2 separate regions of the Homo sapiens genome follow, and region 1 is linked to region 2. Evidence: promoter capture Hi-C in 16 types of primary human blood cells and fetal thymus (Javierre and others, 2016). All regions are on one chromosome and are shown on one strand. Each heading gives the region's core, a stretch centred on a gene start or on the middle of the fragment in contact. The rest is flanking DNA. Distances are from core to core; before and after follow the strand shown. Region 1 has its middle 5.0 kb from the start of FOXN1. Region 2 holds the start of RAB34 (RAB34, member RAS oncogene family).

Region 1 (4,278 bases), core at 1,617-4,116, 220 kb after region 2:
CATGCCTGTAATCCCAGCACTTCGGGAGGTGAGAGGATCGCCTGATCCCAGGAGTTTTGACACCAGCCTGGGCTACAAGGCGAGAGACCCTGTCTCTAAAACAGCAACAACAGGAAGGCTGAATATAATATTGTAAGGATGTCAGTTCTCCTCTAAATAGAAGCTGAATGTAATTCAAATCAAAAGTCTAAAGGATTTTTTGCCCCCTAAACTTGACGAGTTGATTCTATAGTTTGGGGGAAGGGTAAATACATGAGAATAGCTTGGAGCTTTTTGAGAAAGAAGACTAACAGAGGTAACTTTCCCTGCCAGTTTTCAAAATGTTCAATAAGGCTTCCATAATTAAAGCTGCAACTTTGATACAGAAATAAATAAATTAATGGAAGATAATAGAGTCCAGAATAAACTTGGATATTTGTGAGAAATGGGAATATGATAACAAGGTATTTTAAAATAGATATATAATAGTAGGGTATTTTACTTTATTTTTCTGAGACAGGGTCTCGCTCTGTTGCCCAGGCTGGAGTGCAGTGGCAAGATCATAGCTCACTGCAGCCTCCACCTCCTGGACTCAAGTGATCCTCTCACTTCAGCCTCCCCAGTAGCTGGGACTACAGTTATACCATGCTCAGTTAGTTAAAAAAGAATTTTTTTTTGTAGAGATGGGGTGTTGCTCTGTTGCCCAGGCTGGTCTCAAACTCCCAAAGCACTGGTATTATAAGCTTGAGCCACGACATCTGGACTGTAAAGTATTTTAAAGTAGCAAGTAAAAAATTTAATAAATGGAGTTGGGGCAATGAACTTTCCATTGGAAAGAAATAAAGTTAAATCCTACTTCACACTGTACATTAAAAAATCTAGATGGATTAACAATCTAATGTAAAAATGAAAATCATACAAACAAATAGAAAAAATATAGGAAATATTTTTATGATTATGGAGTGGAGAAAGGCATTTTTAAACATGACATCAAATGCAGAAGCCATAAAGGAATACATTGACAGATTTGACTAAATAAAAACTGTAAATTTCTTTAGAGCAAAATGTAACATGAACAAAGTTAAAAGACATAACATAGCCTGGAAGAAAGTGTTGAAACATATGTAACAGATAGAGAGTTAATAGCCACAATATATAAGGAGCTCCTCTAAATAAATAAAAAGATGATTTCACAGAAAAATGGGCAAAGGACACAAGCAATTCACAGGTAAAATACAAACGGCCAAGACACAAGTGAAACGATTTTCAACTTCATTAAAAATCAAGAAAATGCAAATTAATTCAGGGGCCAAGGGTCTCAGGGAGGCCCTGATGGGATGCCCAGGAGAGACTGTAGTTATCACCTCCCACAGTGAGACTGCTTCTGGCGGGTGAGATGAACTTCTTTCTCTTCCAAATCAGGATCCACCTCTGCCCCAGGAATGGGTGTAGGCTCTGGCTCTGGCTCCCTCTTTCCTTTGGGAAGCATGACTTCCTCATTGCATGCAGTCTGGGAGTTGAAACAGGAACCTTGGGATTGCCACAGTCCTTGGACTGAAAGGGGATTTGTGAGGTGTTTCTCCTCTGTCTCTAGATAGGACCATCCCCTCCTTCTCTCATCACACCAGCCCTCCAGAATTCTCTCTTAGGCCCAGAAAGTCTGTCCTGGTGTCTAGCCTCAACTCCAGCTGCTGCAGTATTGGGAAAGGACTTTTGTCTGGAGTTTTGGTCCCACACACTCCAGCACCCTCATTTCAGGTCCTCAGATGGAGCTGAGCTGGGCTCTGGCCTGGAGGAGCTGCAGCTAGATGCTTAGACAGGCTGGGGCCAGAGAAAGCTCTGTCCCTCTGAATACTGGAGGTCAGAAGCAGTTCACTGTATGCTGCTGAGCTGTGCCCAGGGCTGGGCTGCTTTGGGCCAGAAAACAGCCCTGGCTGGGGATGGAAATCCCTGGGGCCCATGTCTGCTATGCTTCAGTCTGGGGAAAGACCCTAGGGACGCTAGGAAGAAGGAAGAGCATGTGCCCACCCTTGGGAGCCCCAATGTGATGGAGGAGGGGGACCCCTTCCTGAACCCTGCATCTGGATTGGCCATCTTCTGTCTGCTTCCGCTCATGCAGGCTGGACTTGCTTTTCCAAAGTGAGTTCCCAAGATTTGAGCCTGCTGCTTTCCAAGTCTCACTCCACTGGTGTGCAAGACACTGAAGAACATCCACAGAGGAACAGGGCCCAAGCAAAGCTGCCATGAGGCCCTGAGGCCCAGGGACCACATGTCAAAGAAGGGGTGGGGAGATCTGGGGTTAATTAGGGTGAGCTTCCTGGGGAAGAGCAGACAGCTCATTGGCTGTGGCTGATGGAGAAGCACCCAGAGCTGTGGAGGGCGTGTGGCGGGGCAGCTGGGCCGAGGTCTGAGCCTGTTCTGGTTGGCTGACCCCCTGGGAAATCCAGGGAGTTTCCAATCTGAGAGCTTGGTGGGGGGGTCGGTGGGGGAGGAACACAGAGTCCTGCTGGGTGGGGAGGGCTTCTCACCTCTTGTCTTAATCCCTCCTGCTGTGGAGGTGGGAGAAGCAATGCTGGGGTGTGTGTGTTTTCACTGGTGTCAGTGTCTGTGTAAGTACATGTGTACCTCTGCATGAGTGTGTACGTATTTACATTTGTGTTCTCACTTTCACGTGTCACCATGGGTGCGCCTGAAGTCTGTGGAGCTGTAATGTGCTACTGGGTATGTCCGTGCCAGAATCTGTGTCTAAATGTGGGTAGCCACATGCAGCGAGAACACTCAGGTCTGACACGGGGTGCGGAGGCGTCTGAGCGACTGTGTGTGTACAGGTGGCTGTGGCTGTGTATGTCTGTGTGTGTTTCTGGGGGTGGTCCTGTGTGTCTTTCAGGCTGTGAGAGCCTGTAATGTTGTATGCATGAGTGTTTGTGTGTGAATGTGTGTAACTGTGTGTTCCCGGGTATCCATGTCTGTGCATGTGTCTATGGGTTCTGTGGGTACCCAAGGATCTGTGACTCCACGTACACACATTTGTGGGTCTTTCCACCCTTCAGAGCACTCTTCTGAGTCCCCGTCACATTCTTTCCAACTAGGCTGCTCTGTTCCCTTCCTTGCCTTCTCCTCTGCACACCCCCTTCCCCTTCCCTTGCCAAACTGGGGTGGAGGCTGCAGGGTTGGAGACTGGTACTCCACCAGAACTTCACCCACCCAGTTCTACTCGACCCCTGACCCAACACTCCCTAGCTTCCTCCACCCTTCCCTCCCTCCTTCAGAAAGCAGCCTCCCCTCCAAGACTGTGAGGAGATAGGAAGTCATGGCCTGCGCCCCCAAGGAGCCTACTCTGGGGCCAATGACCTTAACCTCTAGAGCGCACTTTGGCCGGGGCCCAGGTCCAGGTGAACTCAGAGAGTGGTGTGGACAGCCCTGCTCCTGCCTCCACAAGCTCCCTAACAAGCTCCACCTATCCCTGGGCCCTGTGGTTGCCATAGAGGGCTGGTGCTGGCTGGCAGGAGGAGGGAGTAGGGAAACAGGGACACTCCCAGGACCTCAGGGGACAGGGTCAGGGGAACACTATGGGTCGGCTCAGAAATCTGGGCCTATCTGCTGAGCTTAAGGTGACATTGGCCCAGAGAGGTCAAGATATTTCTCAAAGTCACACAGCACTCCACACACGGCAGTCTGGAAAGAGGCTTGGAGGGGAGCGTGTCCAGCTTCCCTCTGGGAGCAAGAAGCTCCCGTATAGTTCCCACACATTCCTCCTTCATGCACTATTTGCTGTGCCAGGCCCTGTGGAGGAACTGGGGACACAGCTCGAATCAGGCAGACTGTCCTCAAGTCACTTCCAGACTTGTTGATCTTAGCAATGGGATGCTCACTACCGCAGAAGTTGTTGAGTCCCAGCACCGCACAAGTCCAGCTGGTAGGAGACACCCAAAGCTCACTGCTAACTTCCTAGAAGCCATCAATGATGGGGTGTGGGTGCCTGGGCAGCGAGGCTGCAGACTCAGTCCCAGCAGGGCCCATCTACCTGCCGCAGCCTGGAGTGTGTGTGGAGCCGAGCTGCCGGGCTGCCTGTGTAAACCTGACCTGGCTGGCGGGCCCTTCCTTCAAAGACTAGCCCAGGCCGTGCCGCTTTATTGCCCAGTTAATGATGGTGATTAGGCCGACAGGTGCCACCTGCTGCCTGTCCACCCTCCTGCCTGCTAAAGAGGGTGTTTTCTGAGCACCTAGGGGAGGCTTGGCCCCAGAGCTCTGCCAGGGCATCCACCGCAGCCAAACTGTCGACCCTCAGGCTGGCTGGCG
Region 2 (4,235 bases), core at 925-3,424:
CCAACACACACCTTCCTTCTTCGCTTTCGGCGCCATCTTGTGAAAAGGGTCTCCAATGCTCGTTCCCACGGGCTTATAGCGCCAAAGAGCACTAAAGACTCGCGATGCTTTGTACTTAGAGCTGATTGGGTAATTTGCAGAGCGGCGCCCTCTGGGAACGGTAGTTAGGTTTAATTTCTTTTTCGTGCGTGAACAAACATGCGCCACTCCTCCCCTCAAAGGCACTAAAGCTTCATGGGGGTTGTAGTTTTTTGTTTTTTGTTTTTTGTTTTTTTTTTGAGCGCTCTGTCGCCCAGGCTGGAGTGCAGTGGCGCGATCTCGGCTCACTGTAAGCTCCGCCTCCCGGGTTTACGCCATTCTCCTGCCTCAGCCACCAGAGTAGCTGGGACTACAGGCGCGTGCCACCATGGGGATTGTAGTTTTTTGAAGACACGCGTTTATTTGCTCAGGCCAGCGGACGGCGTAGCCGGCTGGCGCTCGGGTCTGGTCCCGGGAGCTTCCTATCTTGAGCAACTGCCAGTCTCAGGGAAGAGGATTGCCATGCCAGGAGGCAGGAACGCTGCCAAGAGGAAAGAACACATTTGGATTGACTCGGGAGTTAGATACAGCTAAGTTCTAGAGTGCTGGAGCAGGATTTGCTCGGTCGAACTGAGGTCCAGAGAGGAATGTGGTTTATCAATAACACAGTGATTTGGTGGCAGAAAAAAATCAAGTCAGGGCCGGGCGCGGTGACTCACGCCTGTAATCCCAGCACTTTGTGAGGCCGAGGTGGACGAATTGCTTCGAGCCCAGGAGTTCGAGACCACCCTGGGCAACACGGCGAAACCCTGTCTCTACAAAAGAATACAAAAATTAGCCGGGCGTGGTGGTGCGTGCCTGTAGTCCCAGTTCCTTGGGAGGCTGAGGTGGGAGGATCGCTTCAGCCCTGGAGGTCGAGGCTGCAATGAGCCATTCCAGCCTGGGTGGCAGAGTGAGACCCTGTCTCAAAATAAATAAATAAATAAATAAATAAATAATCGAGTCACGAGGGGGAAGTGTCAGAGGAAGTACAAGGCGGCCACACCTGCCCCTCTTTACCTGCGACACTGATACTGTCAAGTTTTACTGCGTTTCCTGATAATGCATTTGAAGTTCTATGAAAATTCCACACATTTCTCCAAGATTCGCTAGTTTTTCCGGTTAGTAACTTCACTCACAATCCCCTGCCCTAAACTAGTCTTCCCTTCCGTGTCCTGGTCATCTTTACATCCTCAAATTCAGCTCCAGACACAGAGAAAGGTTTCTTAACACTCAGGTTCGCTTCTCCTAAGGTGTGTGCCTAACCCATCCCCACTTGATCCTTTCTTCTTCCCTCTCCCTTCATAAAACCAGACATGTCCCCTTTGACGGTGAAATTGATTGTGCACTGCCCCCTCTTCTATCCTGCAGGACTTTGCACAAAGGAGTTGTCCCTGGGGGATAGATTCCAATGGGGCCAGAACAATGAACACCCATACCAGAGGGGAGTCCCCGCCTCCCAGAGCGGAGACCACCCCGAAGAGCAGAGTTTCCGGGTCCACTTAGCCCTTCTTTAACCTCCCTCGAGGGAACTTGATCTTCAGCCCTCCCACCTCACAATCTACACAGCAGCCTTGAAGGAAAAGACGCCAGACTTCAGACGTCTCTCTCCTCGGTGGGCACCTCATTCTAACCCTGGCACCCCCTTCGCACGCTTCCCCTCCACCATCCTCACCCCCGACCTCCCAGGGCAGAAGGGCGAGAGGGGGCAGACTCTATGAGTCACCTCCCAGGCCTGGAGTTGAGGAGGGAAGCGCCGCCTCTCCTTGGGCCCCTTCTCTCCCCCTTTCCCCTCCCTGCTGGTTCCTGGCATCGCCAGATGCTGCGCAGCAGTCTCCGATTCCCCATCACCAATTCGGCTGGGTAAGGGTCCCCATGAAGGCGCAGCCGGGTATAGAGGTGCAGGGGAGAGCAGCCTGGGGAGTCCCTATCTGGATAGGCTCCAGCCTGGGTCGGGGCGGTCCTGGTGCCCGGTGAAGCGTCAAAAGAGGGAGCCTGAGCGGGGCAACGCAGAAGGGTGGAGAGGAGGGGGTGGCGAGGGCGGGCAGCGAGGCCTGGAGCCGCCAGGAGAGGGGCGGGGGGCGGCCCTTCTCCAGGAATTTCCGGGGATCGTGTTACAGCGTTGGCGGAGCCCGAGCGGAGTGGGACTCGAGGCCCTGTAGCCGGACTGGGCCCCTCGCCCCCTCCTCCAGCGGCCTGCGGGCCTTGGCAGCGCCGCCCCTGCCCACACTGACCCCGTGTGGCGGGGCCGCTCCGCGCCCCCGGGCCGCTCTGTAATGGTAGGGCAGCCTCAGCCCCGAGATGACGTCGGGTCTCCGCGGCCCCGGGTTATTGTAGGAACCATCCGGCCCCGCGTAATCGTAGGAACTATCCGGCCCCGCGTAATCGTAGGGTCTGCGCGGGCCCGGCCCCCACCAGACGGGACTCCCCGCCCCCAATTGGCGGCCGAAGAGTCTCCTCGCCCCAGAGTCATCTTCGGGACGCCCAGGGCCCGGGTGATTTTGGGCTCGCCGCGGCCCCGGGTGATTGTTTCATCTCCGTGGCCCGCGGTGGTCGTAGCGTCTCCGAGACCGCGGACTCCCGTAGGGTCCCCGTGGCCCCGAGTTGTAGTCGGGACACCCCGGCCGCGGGTGATCGTCGGGTCTCCACGCGCCCGGGTCGCTGACGCGGATCCGGCCTCGGCGCCTTCTCAGGGCGCCCTGCAAGGCCGCAGGCAGGATGAACATTCTGGCACCCGTGCGGAGGGATCGCGTCCTGGCGGAGCTGCCCCAGGTAGGCGCCGGGGCCACGTCGGGCTTCAGTCTACAGCCCGGGGTGTGGGCGAGGAGGAGGCGGCACCAGACCAGTTAGAGGACTGGGCCCAGCCCTGCCACCCAGCTAGGCCTGGTGCTTCTGGGTGGTCCCTGCACTCCACCCCTACCCGGGCCGCTTGGCTGCGGGACAAGGGCCAGGAGTAGGAAGCTCCATTCTCTTCCATCCTTCCCACTAAGTGCCTGAGGAAGGAGGCCGCTTTGCACGGGCACAAAGACTTCCACCCCCGCGTCACCTGCGCCTGCCAGGAGCACCGGACAGGCACCGTGGGGTGAGTTAGGGACACCCACAACAAAGAGAGGAGGTCCCAGGAAACTCTGTAGTCATAGCGAGGGTAAACAACCACCCCCTTGGGGCTTCATTTCAGCCCCTACCAGCTATATGGTTATTTCCCCCTCTTTAAGCCCCTGTATCCCCTCCTTTTCTCCCAACAAGGTTGTTGTGAGTTCTATGAGATGGGGTTGGGTAGAAGGGTGGCAGCTGGATTTCTGAGTAGAGACTAAGGTGTCTGAAATGGGAAGGTGGTCACCTGCTCAGATCCCCACATAGCATCCATGGAGCCCCAGGGCAGGGGTCTGGCTGTGCTTACAGGGATGAGTCTTATTGTGGGTTTTAAAGGTAATACTGATAACAGTTGGCACCATTAATTAAGCATTTGCTGTGTGCCAGGCAGTGTTGGGTACTATCATCTTTATTGAATGGAAAAGTCCATCACTTAAGATATATCCTGATTTCAGACATTAAAATGCGGGGGGGAGGGTGTCTTAGAATATAGGACATTTATCTCATTTTAACCTTCACAACGACCCAGTAAAATATATACTAACTTTACTTAAATGTTTAAACTGAGGCTTAGAGAGGCTAAATAACGTGTCCAAAGTCACACAGCTAATCAGTGTGAGAGCTGGGATTCAAATTCATGTCTCTCTGCTTCTGGAGCACAAAACACTCCTCCTCCCCAGCACACCTGTCCACGCAGCTGCCTGGGATGCCTGGTGTCTATAATACCCTCAGCCTGGGTGCAGCTACCTTTCTGGACCTAGTCGGGAGCATTGGAACTCCCTAGGGTGAAAGAGCTCGTGCCCACTCCCCTTGCCCACTCTTGTGTCCAGCAGATTTAAGATCTCCAAGGTCATTGTGGTGGGGGACCTGTCGGTGGGGAAGACTTGCCTCATTAATAGGTAAGGGGGTGCTGGAGCTGAGCTGGGCAGGGTGGGGCCAAGCCTAGCCAGGTGGGCTGGCTCCAGATCACAGCATCTGGTACCCTCTCAGGTTCTGCAAAGACACCTTTGATAAGAATTACAAGGCCACCATTGGAGTGGACTTCGAGATGGAACGATTTGAGGTGCTGGGCATTCCCTTCAGTT

The links. Contacts are between HindIII fragments. The CHiCAGO score rates a contact against its expected background, and 5 or more counts as called.
Region 1: a fragment that was not itself captured here is called in contact with the fragment with the promoter of RAB34 in region 2 in 1 of 17 cell types (naive B cells); the score reaches 5.5 in naive B cells.

The regions. Positions count from the first base shown.
Region 1 is chr17:28,499,247-28,503,524 of GRCh38, reverse strand. No RefSeq gene overlaps it. Among named protein-coding and RNA genes, the nearest start is that of FOXN1, 5.0 kb to the left of the region's middle. RefSeq lists a silencer at 2,181-2,377. The HindIII fragment of the contact is 4,283 bases long and covers 725-4,278 here.
Region 2 is chr17:28,715,807-28,720,041 of GRCh38, reverse strand. It overlaps RAB34 (RAB34, member RAS oncogene family), which reads left to right and starts at 2,174. Exons shown (of 10, transcript NM_031934.6): 1 at 2,174-2,829; 2 at 3,048-3,139; 3 at 3,984-4,049; 4 at 4,141-4,235. The coding sequence starts at 2,776. It overlaps RPL23A (ribosomal protein L23a), which reads right to left and starts at 57. Exons shown (of 5, transcript NM_000984.6): 1 at 12-57. The coding sequence starts at 36. RefSeq lists enhancers at 1-62, 493-542, 199-800, 801-1,401 and a silencer at 2,082-2,341. The HindIII fragment of the contact is 7,301 bases long and covers 233-4,235 here.